Linked DNA regions of Homo sapiens: region 2 is linked to region 1. Evidence: promoter capture Hi-C in 16 types of primary human blood cells and fetal thymus (Javierre and others, 2016). All regions are on one chromosome and are shown on one strand. The core of a region is centred on a gene start or on the middle of the fragment in contact, and the rest is flanking DNA. Distances in the headings are between cores, read along the strand shown. Region 1 holds the start of NKAIN2 (sodium/potassium transporting ATPase interacting 2). Region 2 holds the start of RSPO3 (R-spondin 3).

Region 1 (5,310 bases), core at 1,370-3,869:
GAGAACACTGTGCCAATGACGTCAGATGAGGTATAAAAGCCCCTGGAGACTGCCTTAGGTTGGGATTCTCAAGAGGCAGGCTCTGACACAAGGATTTGAGTGGTTTATTTCAGAGGTGATCCCAGGAAGCAGTGGTATGAAAGCAGGGAGATGAGGCATGGAAGGGAAGGAAGCCAATTCAGAGCGCATGAATGAGCCAGTTACTACTGTGGACACCTAGGGCTCAATCTCGGTGGGGACCTTAATGGTGTAGACTAGAACATGTCTGACGGTTTCCCATATGAGGATTGAAGAAGCTGGGGTATTTATCCTCCAATTCCCATCCATTATTGCGTGAGGGTAGCTCTTAGGGCTGGAACCTTATTGTTCAGCCAAGCACCTCCAATGGCTAGAAAACAGACTGTCCCAAGTGATTACAAAAACGCAAGCATGGACTGAAAGGGCACAGTCCAAGAACTATGGTGGGGCACTGCTGGAGTCAGCTACAGATAGCATTCTGCTTTCCTATACAACCTAAAGATTACTCAGGCTATTGCTGGTTGCAGGGAAACCTCTGCAGGATTACGGAGGGATCCATATAAATGTGTTGTTCCTATGATTAATTTGAGGAGGTAATAGAATGCTTTTGACAGTATGGCAGCAGCTTCTTCAACAGTCAATTAACTTACAGCTTTCTGTTTGGCAATGCAAAATACCCATAGCCCTAGCAGGTACAGGACAGCTAACGTGTATAAAGACAGAAGAGCAACTAAGAGAAACATTTTCCACTAGATAACTGGCTTCAGTTTTACCAAAGGTTGTGGAACTATTACCTTCCAGGCTTTGCAGTGCCTAAGAGCACATATTGGGCTCTTGGGAATTTTATTAAACATTGAAAGACACTTTTCAGAAGAAAAGCCCCTTTACAAATGGGTCGATTAAAACCAGACATTCTCATTATAGCAATAAAATATCTGTGCTCCATAAATTTAACAAAGTTAATCCCTTTTTGGCTCCCTAGGACTGACGAAACGTTTCTGAAAATTCAGTGCCAGGCTCTGGAGAATAGTCTCTCTGCCCTATTCAATTTATTTGTATTTAGTCATTCTGATACGTCATAATGTTTATTCAAAGGAAGCAATCATTCGGGATCCTTATTTGTGGTTCCCAGCATAACTTTATCCTGTATAAATGCCATTTTTCTCAGTAGGCGCCAAGTTCCAGTTGCTACAGAGAGCTCTCTGCTTGATGTGGCTTCGTCATCTTAATCTCTTAAGAAGGGTGCTAGGGAGCTGTTTGCTATTTAGCTCCCTAAACCATCCTCTTATCAATCGCGACACTTCACCCCAATGAGTCAGTTCCTCAGTGGATCTCAACAAATAATCTTCACTTCCTGGAAAAGTTAGGATTGCTTTCCTTAGCTGCCAGGGCTAAAAAGGAAACTTGGTCCTAAATATCCACGCCCCAGGGGCAGCCACTTGGGCCAGCATGTTGCGCCCTTCAGCTTTCCGCCCGCAGGTGGCAGCAGCGGGCTCCGAAGCCTGTCTCTGCAGGTAGCAGCCGCTTCACAGCTTTCAGGCCGGTGCTCAGCGGAGGCTGGTGCATCTCCACTAGGAATCCACACCCAGCTGGGACTGCTGTGAAGCTGAAGTAACTGAGTATTAAACTAGTCTCCGACTCTTTAGTATTTTAAGTGAAAACAAACAACAGTTTGAAGCAGCAACAGCAACTCATTGCATCCCTATTCCCTCCGGTTGCTAATTTTTCCCAACTCCAGCAGCAACTCGGTCCCCTTCCCCAAGCAGGGTCGGCTCCGTAGCTCTCCGCGCTCCGACCCTTCAGATCCTCGGGAGCCCAGGGGAGCCAGGTGCTGGGCGGTGCGTCCGGTGCCGCCGCGCCCCTTCTCGCCACCTCTGGCCTCTCCGCCACTCGGGCTTTCCGGCCGCTCTGGATGCCTCGGTTGCACCCCTGTTCCATGACCCCAGCTTCCTTCCCTAACCCTCCTCTTGGTCCCTTCTCCCCCGAGCGCGCGCGCACACACACACTCGGTTCGCTCCCGCGGAGTGGCTCTGGGAGCACGACCGACTTCAGCTCAGCAAACCGCGGTCATGCCGCCCAGACTCCTCGCCCCGAGGCCCCGGTCCCCGCCGCCGCCGCTTTCGCGCCGCTCCTTTCCGCCTAGACACCGCCGCCTGCGGCCGCCTGGGCGGCAGCCCCTGCGGTCCTCAAAGTTGGCCCCCTGGGAGGGGGCGGCAGGGAGCAGGATGAAGGATTTGTTGTAGGAGGAGGATTCACACATCTGGGCGAAGGGAGGGGCAGCGCCGCTGCTGGGACGCGGCGCGGACCCGCATCATTGCGCGCAGCAGCCGCTGCAGCAGCCGCCGGGGACCGCGGAGCCGGGACGCCCCCGCTCGGCCCGCGCCCCGCTCCCCGCCCCACCCCCGCCCGCCGGGCCCAGCAACGCAGGGTGCCTAGGAGCCGCGGGCTGCGCAGGGAGGCGGGCAGCGGCCCTCGCGCGCTTCTGCCGCCCCCGGAGCCGGCGCGCGGCGAGCGCAGGGCGAGCGCGCGTCGGGCGGCGGCCGCGCTGGGGGGCGTGAGGCGAGCGGCGCGGAGAGCGGCAGGGGCGAAACTTCGCGGGCCAGATGCCCGAGGGCGCGGCGGCGCTGCCAGGCTGCCGCTGCTGCCCCTGCGGGCCCCGAGCGCGCCTCCGCAGGCGGCACTGCCCGCGGCGCGGCGTGTGCACCGAGCGAGTGAAGGTATGTGTGGCGGGCGCGGCTGGAGCTGCCGCCGCCGCCGCCGCCGCGCCAGCAGGTCCTAATGCCTGTCACTTCCCAGGACGCTGGCAGCAGCAGCAGCCCGGAGCCCCCGAGCCCTCGGCAGGTTTGCGTGTCCTTCCCCGCGATCTGATTGGATAAAGTGGGGGCTCGACGGTGGCCGACGTGGGACAGTCTGGCTGTGGCAGGGGTCTCGGAAACCATGGGTTATTGCAGTGGCAGGTGCACGCTTATCTTTATCTGTGGCATGCAACTGGTAAGTGACACTTGGGTCCCCTTATTCTGTAATGTGTCTTTGAGATAGTGGGCAGGGGAGTGCAGCAAAGGGTCTGCCATTGACTAGAATGGACGAAAAAGATAAAAGAGAAGGTGACAGATATATTGCCTATATTGAAGATGATTTCAGGGAGACGCACTCTGGGGTACAGGAGAGGTGAGCCTTTCCGTTCCCACCTATTTCTGTCCCTTTTAAGACAGTTTGGCAGGTGCGGGTTAAACTTGTCTTTAATTTCTTTAGGAAAAGCAAGATGTAGCTCTTGTTCTTTATGCTTTGCATTCCTATTCATGTAACAACGTGATTGTCACCTACAATTTACCGTACAGGTTGTTAAACAGAGGAATACGGAATTTTGGACTTTTCTTCTCTATACTAATTTTGCAGTATCTTTGTTTCTTCATAGACATGTTTTTTTTCTTTTTTTAAGGAAAATGTTGTCTTTAAGTATAATGCTCTAAAAAAACCACTGTTTAGGGCACATGGTATCCTTACAACAGTCTAATTTAGACTGTTTGAGTTTTAGCCACATTGAGTTTTTAAAGTATGCAGATTGAACAAAAATACTTAGGTGAACTCAGCAACACCATTGTCATAGACGGAACCAGTAACCTTTAAATCACAATTAACACAGACAATTCCAAGAAAAACTATTCTGTCTTACATTATGCATATTATTGCTCCTGAAATAGATACTGTTGTCTGATCCTATAGGATGGAGAATTCTATGTACTTTTTGAGGAATGTTGTACAGTTGCAAAGGGGCAAGGAACCAATAATGGAAAACGTCATGTCTCTGAATTTCAATTCCCTAAGGGCAATGGAAGGAGGGTCTGAGTAGAGAGTTGAGAGGTGAAAAATACACCACTCTAAGTGGTTAATTTGAGGTAGGAGCTACTTGCTCACACTTGTCATTAAATATATTTCCTTAGAAAGTATAAATTAACTGGAATAGTCATGTCCGTTTTCAACAACTGTTTCATAAAGGTTGAAGTGACTACAAGGCAGAAGATGTTTAAGTGTCCAATCAGTAAAGTGTTCAAAAGAGCAAGGATTTGCCATTGAAACTGGCAGAGGAATTCCTTAAGTGTTCTTGTTTATCAGTTGTCGTGAAGCCCATGAGTGTTAGTTATTGCTGCTTTGTTTAATATTTAGCTGAAACAGTGCTTTTTGTTGTGTGTTGTCTTAGGATGTTTTTCTTTCCCCTGAAAGTTATCTGATGGTGTCTATTTTGATCTGTGATTTATGCGCTTATGCACTTGGTTGTAAGACAAAGATGGAACTATAAATGTAATTTTCAGAATGTGGTAGTTTCTCAATGATGTGTAAACCAGTTTATTTTTCTGTACCACAGATTCATATAAGTTTTGCAATGAAGGATTTTTACTCTTAATAATAAAGCTAACCAAAACAATGAGGGAGTTTACTTTGTTAAACAACCCATTAGGCTAAGTCTGCCAAACTGTATAAAGGTTTTCAAAACATTCTTATTTTTATATATTATTCAGAAAAAGAATACATTTGCTGATTCACTGTGTGAAAGCATAAAAATGTGAGAATGAGTGGGTGTGTAGATCATTCTTATGCTCTTTTCGATTTAAAATTTGAAAAATGTGATTTAACTTCTAATCATGTAATATAATAGGGCTTTCTTATGGCAAATGTATGCACTAGGTCTGTATGACATTTTGTGTGATGAATACAAACTCCTCAAGAACTTAATTTTAGAAAAACATAAATATACCAGTAGGGAAGCTATCTATTCAAAGTAGAATGATAAAGCTAAAGGTTCCTTTGTGTTTTTATGTGCTCACATATGTGTGTATGTACATATGCTCTTGAGTACATGCATGCATCCATACATACAATGGTGTCTTGGAGAGTTGCACCATCACTTATGAAACAGAAATTCTGAATTATAATTAAGTTCTCTAACAGAATAGACGTAGCTGTAATACAGAAGAGCACAATCTAAGTAAGTGTACATTGGAATCCTAAGGAGTTTTTATATTATATGAGAATCATGTGATTTTTCCCATTCAGACTTTATGTGCCACCAGGCTAATATAATTAGCAGCCATGTTAACGCAGATGCAGAACAAAAAACAAAGGACAAAGAAAATGCAATTGTTTTGATAGGGTGAAATGATCACACCTCAAAGGACCTCAGAGATTCTTGGTAATTGTTGCTTTTTGGAAATACGGTATTTGATTTTAAATAAAATAATTCTTTTGCAAATTAATAGTTGCAAAGCCCTGCACTAAAAAATAGGTGGGTGTGTA
Region 2 (6,173 bases), core at 3,305-5,804, 3.3 Mb after region 1:
ACAAAAATTAGCAAAGCACCTATGAATCAGGGACTCTTTCAAAGTGACCTCCCAGAAGTTTGCTGCTGTGTTAACCTGTAGTGCTAGTGTAGTCCTTCAGATATTCTGTTAAATATAATACATAGGGCAGGCTTATGTTAAAATCACTTGAGGCTTGTGACTTTCGACTAAATACTTCTTCAGTAATTACTGAAAAGTTCATCGGCTGGTGCTACCGGAGAAAAGACGTGGAAAGCTCACCATTTACTAACGACAGCCAGGGTGTGCCCCACTCAGGGGTGCCGGCCCTCTGTTCTCCCATCCCTGGGTGGGCCAGAGCATCTTACTCTCTGCTGCCTTGGGCCTCCACTTGGGCTGGGAAGATAAGAAAGTAGTGGACCTTCCCCTTCCTTCCCCAAGACTGGGAAAATCTTTCCAAATCTTATTCCCAGTCTTCCAGATGCGAGATTAGAATGTACAACAGATCCTCTCAAGAACACTGGGAGACCGAGGGTGGGAGAGAAAACTCCAAGGGGGGCGAGCTGACTATAGAGGGAATTGCCTGAGCGGGAAAGGAATCTTCCAAAGCCACAGAAAAGCCTTGGTTTGGAAGAAAGCCGTAGCACAGCTGCATTTCCAACGGGAAGGTCCTGAGCGCACACACTTCTGGGTCCTCCCCGCTCGGAGCAGGTAAACCTCAGAGTAGCTGACCGGCAGCACCCACAGAGTTTCCTCCCCACCACCCGCCTGGCGACCAACTGCAGCCGAAAAGAAAGAAAGAAAGGAAAGAAAGAAAGAAAGAAGAAGGAAGGAAGGAAGGAAGGAAGGAAGGAAGGAAGGAAGGAAAGAAAGAAAGAAAGACAAAGAAAGAGGAAGGAAGAAAGAAAGAAAAGAAAGAAAGAGAAAGAAAGAAAGAAAGAAAGAAAGAAAGAAAGAAAGAAAGAAAGAAAGAAAGAAAGAAAGAAAGAAAGAAAGAGAGAGAAAAAGAAAAAGGGAGAAAGGCAACAGAGGAGAAGGTCAGGAAAGCCGGGAACAAGTCAGCAGCCAGAAACTCTCCAGCGATCTGCCAAGGGGGAGAGGGTAGTTGCGCGCCGGCGCTGGGGATGGGGTGGGGGCGCTGGGGCACAAGGGCGCAGGGGCGCACGGCCACCGACAGCCGGGTGCGCCTAGCTTGAGGCCGCGGAGAGGAGCCGAACTGGGATGGGTGGGGGGTCTTCGGCCTCAACACTGCCTGCCAGCCCCAGTGCGCCCAAGTCTCCCCGCCAGAGCTGCCCTTCTGGAGGGGCTCTTCGCACGCACTGCTTTCCCCATTCTTCTGGCTGGAATTCTCCGGCCGTCACTGCAGTGTCCAGAGATGCTGCGCTGTAGACCCGGGACCCCTTAGGCGCCTCTTCCCGTCCCTCTGCCAAAGCGCAACGCCTGTACTTTTCCAGCTCCCTCTTTCCCTCTTGAAATTGAAAGTTATTGAGGTCGCTCAGGGTTGTTGCTCCAGCAGTTTCCTTCCCCGCCCCCGAGCTCCCCCCCGCCCCCCACAGCCATCCCCCCTCCTCTCCCCCTCCCTGCCCTCCTCTCCCTCCCCCCTCCCTGCCCTCCTCCTCCTCCTCCCCTATGTGGTGCTCCCGGGAGCCCAGCCCAACACTGGAGCGTCTCCTGCTCGCGCACGCCAGAAGCAGCTCGGGGTCTCTCCGCCGCCCCTTGGCCATGGCCGCTGTGCCGACGGCGCCCGCTCCCCTGCGCTCCAGGGGCCCCCGCCGCTGCAGCCGCAGCCGCCGCAGCTTCTGAGCCCAAGGGGCCGCCGCTGCAGCCGCCGCCGCCGCCGCTCGCCCGCCCGGATCCCGCCTGCGGCAGTTGCCGCACAACATGCTACCTGCGGCCGCCCCGGCGGCTCCTGGAACCCCGGTTCGCGGCGATGCCAGCCACCCCAGCGAAGCCGCCGCAGTTCAGTGCTTGGATAATTTGAAAGTACAATAGTTGGTTTCCCTGTCCACCCGCCCCACTTCGCTTGCCATCACAGCACGCCTATCGGATGTGAGAGGAGAAGTCCCGCTGCTCGGGCACTGTCTATATACGCCTAACACCTACATATATTTTAAAAACATTAAATATAATTAACAATCAAAAGAAAGAGGAGAAAGGAAGGGAAGCATTACTGGGTTACTATGCACTTGCGACTGATTTCTTGGCTTTTTATCATTTTGAACTTTATGGAATACATCGGCAGCCAAAACGCCTCCCGGGGAAGGCGCCAGCGAAGAAGTAAGTGCAGGGTTTTTTACGCGTTTGCTCCCTCCCGCCGCGTTCACCTGTCGGGTCGCTTTGCCTGTCCGGAGCCGGCTCCCAACTGCAGCGGTCCTCCCGCCCTGCGCCTCGCAGAGGAGATGCAGGTTCGGGCTTTGGGGGTATGGACGGCGTCTTTCACCCTTGCCTCTCGGCGCCCCTGCCTTCCGCAGCATCCTAGCCGGTGCGAGGGGCGGGCGGACGCGGCGCTAAGGTGGCTCCCGCCCCATGGTAACTTCAGGTTCGCGGGAAAGTTCGGTCCTGGGTTAGACTCGCACCCGGGATTTGTGCTTTCCTTTTGAGGATCGGACAGGGGCACCCAGCCGAAGGCACTTGGGACTCCCAGACGCAGGATGCCTCTGACCGCTGAGTAAATGACAAGGGAGGCGCGGCCGCGGTACCCGCTCACCTAGCGCAACCGCCTCGCGCGGGGAGACCTCGGCTGGGCCCTTAGGCTGGACTCCGGTAGCCGAACGCCCGCTACCCGGCCAGGAAGCCAGGGAGCGAGCGCCTGCGCGGCCGCATCCCCGACACGCACCAGCGGAGCCAAAGGGCGCGCGAGGCGATGGGGTTCGCGTGTCTGCGCGTTTGCAGAGCTGCCGGACGTCCCCCGCCCGAGGGTTGAAGACAGCAAAACCCCAGCTGTGGGGAGCCGGAGGTGCGGAGTTTCCAGGTTCTCTCTTGTCACATGTGAGCGTCTGTACCATCTCTGGCCCTTTCAAGTGTGTCCCCTGGGACACACACGTACAGAGAGTGGGGTCTCCCTAAAGATTCGCCTCCTCGCTGCCCTTAATGCTGTTATTTGGAGGGTTGGATTGTGATGGCTTCTTAAGACGGTGTCCTAGCTGGAATTAAGCGGACACCACCACGGCAGCCTCAACCTGGGTTGGTCTGTCTGAAAGGTAGAATCTTCCCAAGATGAAGGGACAGATGCGAAGGTGTCACCTCTCCTCGCTCCAGGGTAGCCTGGCGCCCTCGCTGCTCTAGTGTCTGTGTTCCCATGGGGAGTCCTTTCGCAGATCTCAGAGCAGGGGCGACCCTGGCTCTATGGTTGGGGGCGCTGGTGGAGAGAGGGAGGAGGAAACTTCTCCTGGAGCTCGCGAGGGGCAGGAAGCGATGCTGCTGCTCTGGGCTCTCGCACCTCCGCGGCGTGCAGCCCAGGCCCAGCGGCCCCACCTGGTTTCCCAAGGGGATCCCTCTCCCAGCGTCCCGCCCGGGAAGCCTTTCGGGGCAGACGTCGGGGCAGCGCGGAGGACACAACACCGGCTTGTGTGAGATGGAAATTTAGTAATCGCTTCTCGGCCGCTGTTTGTCCCTGCCCTGCCCCTGGGCATGAGGGTCCCCTGAAAGCTCCCTTTGTATTGCTGGCCTCGGCCAGACAAGGTTTGATTCACCTGAAAATTGCCTTTTAAAAAGGTGGCAGTGCCAGAGCGACAGGGGCCCTGGCCGGGCCTCACCGCCTTTAGGATCACCTAGCAGGGGGCAGGAGAGCCCAAACTAAATATGTCAGGGCATCCGATTTATTATTCTTGGCCTCCGAATGGTGTGTACTCTGGTAACTCCCCACCCACTCTTTCATTCCGGCCCGGACGCGGAAGGGGAGGCCTGGGGTTCAGCGGTGTCCACGCGCCTGGCGGTCCCCGCCTCCTCTCCTCCCAGGGTCTGGCCTGGGGAATTGAGTCTCAGGGTCAGTGGGCATAGGGAGCCCGGGCTGGAGCGCAACCCACTCTGCTTTCCATCCGCTCTTCCAGCCCGTGCCCATTGGGCGTCCCAGAGCACGCTCTCTCCTTTACCCCCACCGAGGACCCCCGGGCTGGGAGCCACACACTTGTCAAGGAGGGACAGGGTACTGAGTGTCAGAGGCGTCTCGCTTTGCAGTTTTGGGGCCCCTGATTCTGAAGGAAGACACAGGAAAGAAAGCTTGTAGTCCTTTTGTGCCCACCTCCCCCAGCGAGGACCACGGCGCAGGAAGCTTTCCCCGGGCGCTGCCTCAGGGAGCTGTGGGATGATGCACCTCTAGGTTGGGCCGAGAGGAGTCAAAAGGCAAACTGCTTTTCGACCTGCCTTAATCATCTCAAGGCCAAGTCAAAGGAGACCTCTGTTTGTGTTGAGGGGATGAAAGAAGGAATAGTGGAACTGGGTTGCAATTCCAATTTTTCTGTGGGAGTGGGACTGGGAGACAGCACCCACAGCGATGCTCTTGCTCCTTCGCACTTGAGTCTGCGTTTGCGGCTTGGTTTGCTGGTGCAATCCTGGTAGAGGGGCGACCCCTTGCGTCCTCGGAGGAGACAGACTAGACTCTTGGCAGGTGCAGTATGACTTAAGGAGGAAGGAGTGGAGGGTAGAGAGGTCCTCTTTAAATGCCCAGAAACTCAAGGTCAAACTGCATGTGCACAAACTCAGATATACCGTTTGTTTTGAAATCTCTGGGGGAAAAAAACGAACAAAAAGATTCAATTCACAGTTCCTGTTTCTCAAGTAAGGACTAGGAAAAGTTTTTAAAATGAAAACATGTGGTCAAACGTGTTTTCAAAAGAGGCTGGCTATCCTAATTGTTTCTTCAAGAGACAATTAAGTGAATATTTAAGGAGTCTTCTGGCCTGTAGTTATATAGTTTCAATTTCCTAAGCTTAAAATCATCAATAAAGATATGACAGGTAGAAAATTAGGTGTTAAAAACTTCTACAAAAAATTTAATGGTCTCTCTTGATTTAGTAGGAAACTTTTTTGTAAACAAGAACATTCATTTGAAGTGTTAAATATTGTCATGTCCAAAGAATCATGCATTATCCTCAGAAATAGCAAATAAAGCCATATCAGTATTCTCCTGTTTCCCTAAAACAACTGTAATTCCATTTGTCTCTACTTTGATATAAACTAGTGATCCTAGTTATTACAAACTAGTGTTTCTTCTCATAAAAGAAACAATGTTTTAAGACAAGACCCTTGTACTTTAAAATGTCTATTTAGTTATGGGTGAATAAATACACAATAAATTTTTATCTATTTGAATTGGTATACAGCTCTTAAAAATGACTCAACCTTTGAATTCCAGATTGTGTGCTAATAACATTAAGAAGCACTTTTTTTTTGCCATAATGATAGCCACAGAATCTTAGTGGGGCCTCACATTTTCACGTGGATTAGTTGCTTGGGCCCTGAAATAGCCACTGAAGTGAAGAAGCAGGTACTTATCTTCCCATCTTAGAAAGAAAAGGCCTGAGAACTAGAGGCTCAGTAACCTACATAATGCCATATATCTAGCAAGTGGAACTTGTCTCCTGCCATGAATCTCACAGTTATGTACACCTTTATTCTATATTCTGGTCATAGAGAAGATATCAGGTTTATTAAGTAATAAATTAGATGGTCTCAAGGCCATCATTTATTCAATAGGTTTAGAGAATAAACTGTTCTCCTTGACTGGAAATTTTTGAACTCATTATTTTATATAATGGTGATCAATGTCAAAGAATTAAATACCTAATAGTAAAGTTTTCTAAACGGAATATATCATTTGATTATCTAGGAGATACTATGGGATTATTCTGTGCCAGAAGGTTATTGTTAGAAACATCAGATGGCATTTAGCATCCTTTTTATTTGATGCCATCTAGTAGCTCGGTTTTAATTGTTCAGACTCTAGATAAATGCAAGTTTTGAAAAGCCATTATATGCATAATAATTTAAAAGCACTCATTGCACAATCTATAAAACTTCGCAAGTCTTTCATAAAGACGTCTGAAGAAAGAGAGAAAGAATAAAAAGGAAATAATTTTCATGGTAATAAAATAAAAACAGACTATTGGAATGTACTGGTCATTGCTCATGACATTGTTTCAGATGTTGAGCCAGTCTTTGAAATTATGACACACCCTTTGTGATTATGTTGTGAATCCTGGAAAATAACAAGTTAA

Evidence for each region. Contacts are between HindIII fragments. The CHiCAGO score rates a contact against its expected background, and 5 or more counts as called.
Region 2: a fragment that was not itself captured here is called in contact with the fragment with the promoter of NKAIN2 in region 1 in 1 of 17 cell types (naive B cells); the score reaches 5.1 in naive B cells.

The regions. Positions count from the first base shown.
Region 1 is chr6:123,801,246-123,806,555 of GRCh38, forward strand. It overlaps NKAIN2 (sodium/potassium transporting ATPase interacting 2), which reads left to right and starts at 2,620. Exons shown (of 7, transcript NM_001040214.3): 1 at 2,620-3,009. The coding sequence starts at 2,956. RefSeq lists an enhancer at 1,376-1,425. The HindIII fragment of the contact is 9,489 bases long and covers 1-5,310 here.
Region 2 is chr6:127,117,055-127,123,227 of GRCh38, forward strand. RSPO3 (R-spondin 3) reads left to right here and starts at 1,617. Exons shown (of 5, transcript NM_032784.5): 1 at 1,617-2,235. The coding sequence starts at 2,139. LOC105377989 (a long non-coding RNA gene) reads right to left here. Exons shown (of 14, transcript XR_002956387.2): 4 at 1,847-4,682. The HindIII fragment of the contact is 657 bases long and covers 4,227-4,883 here.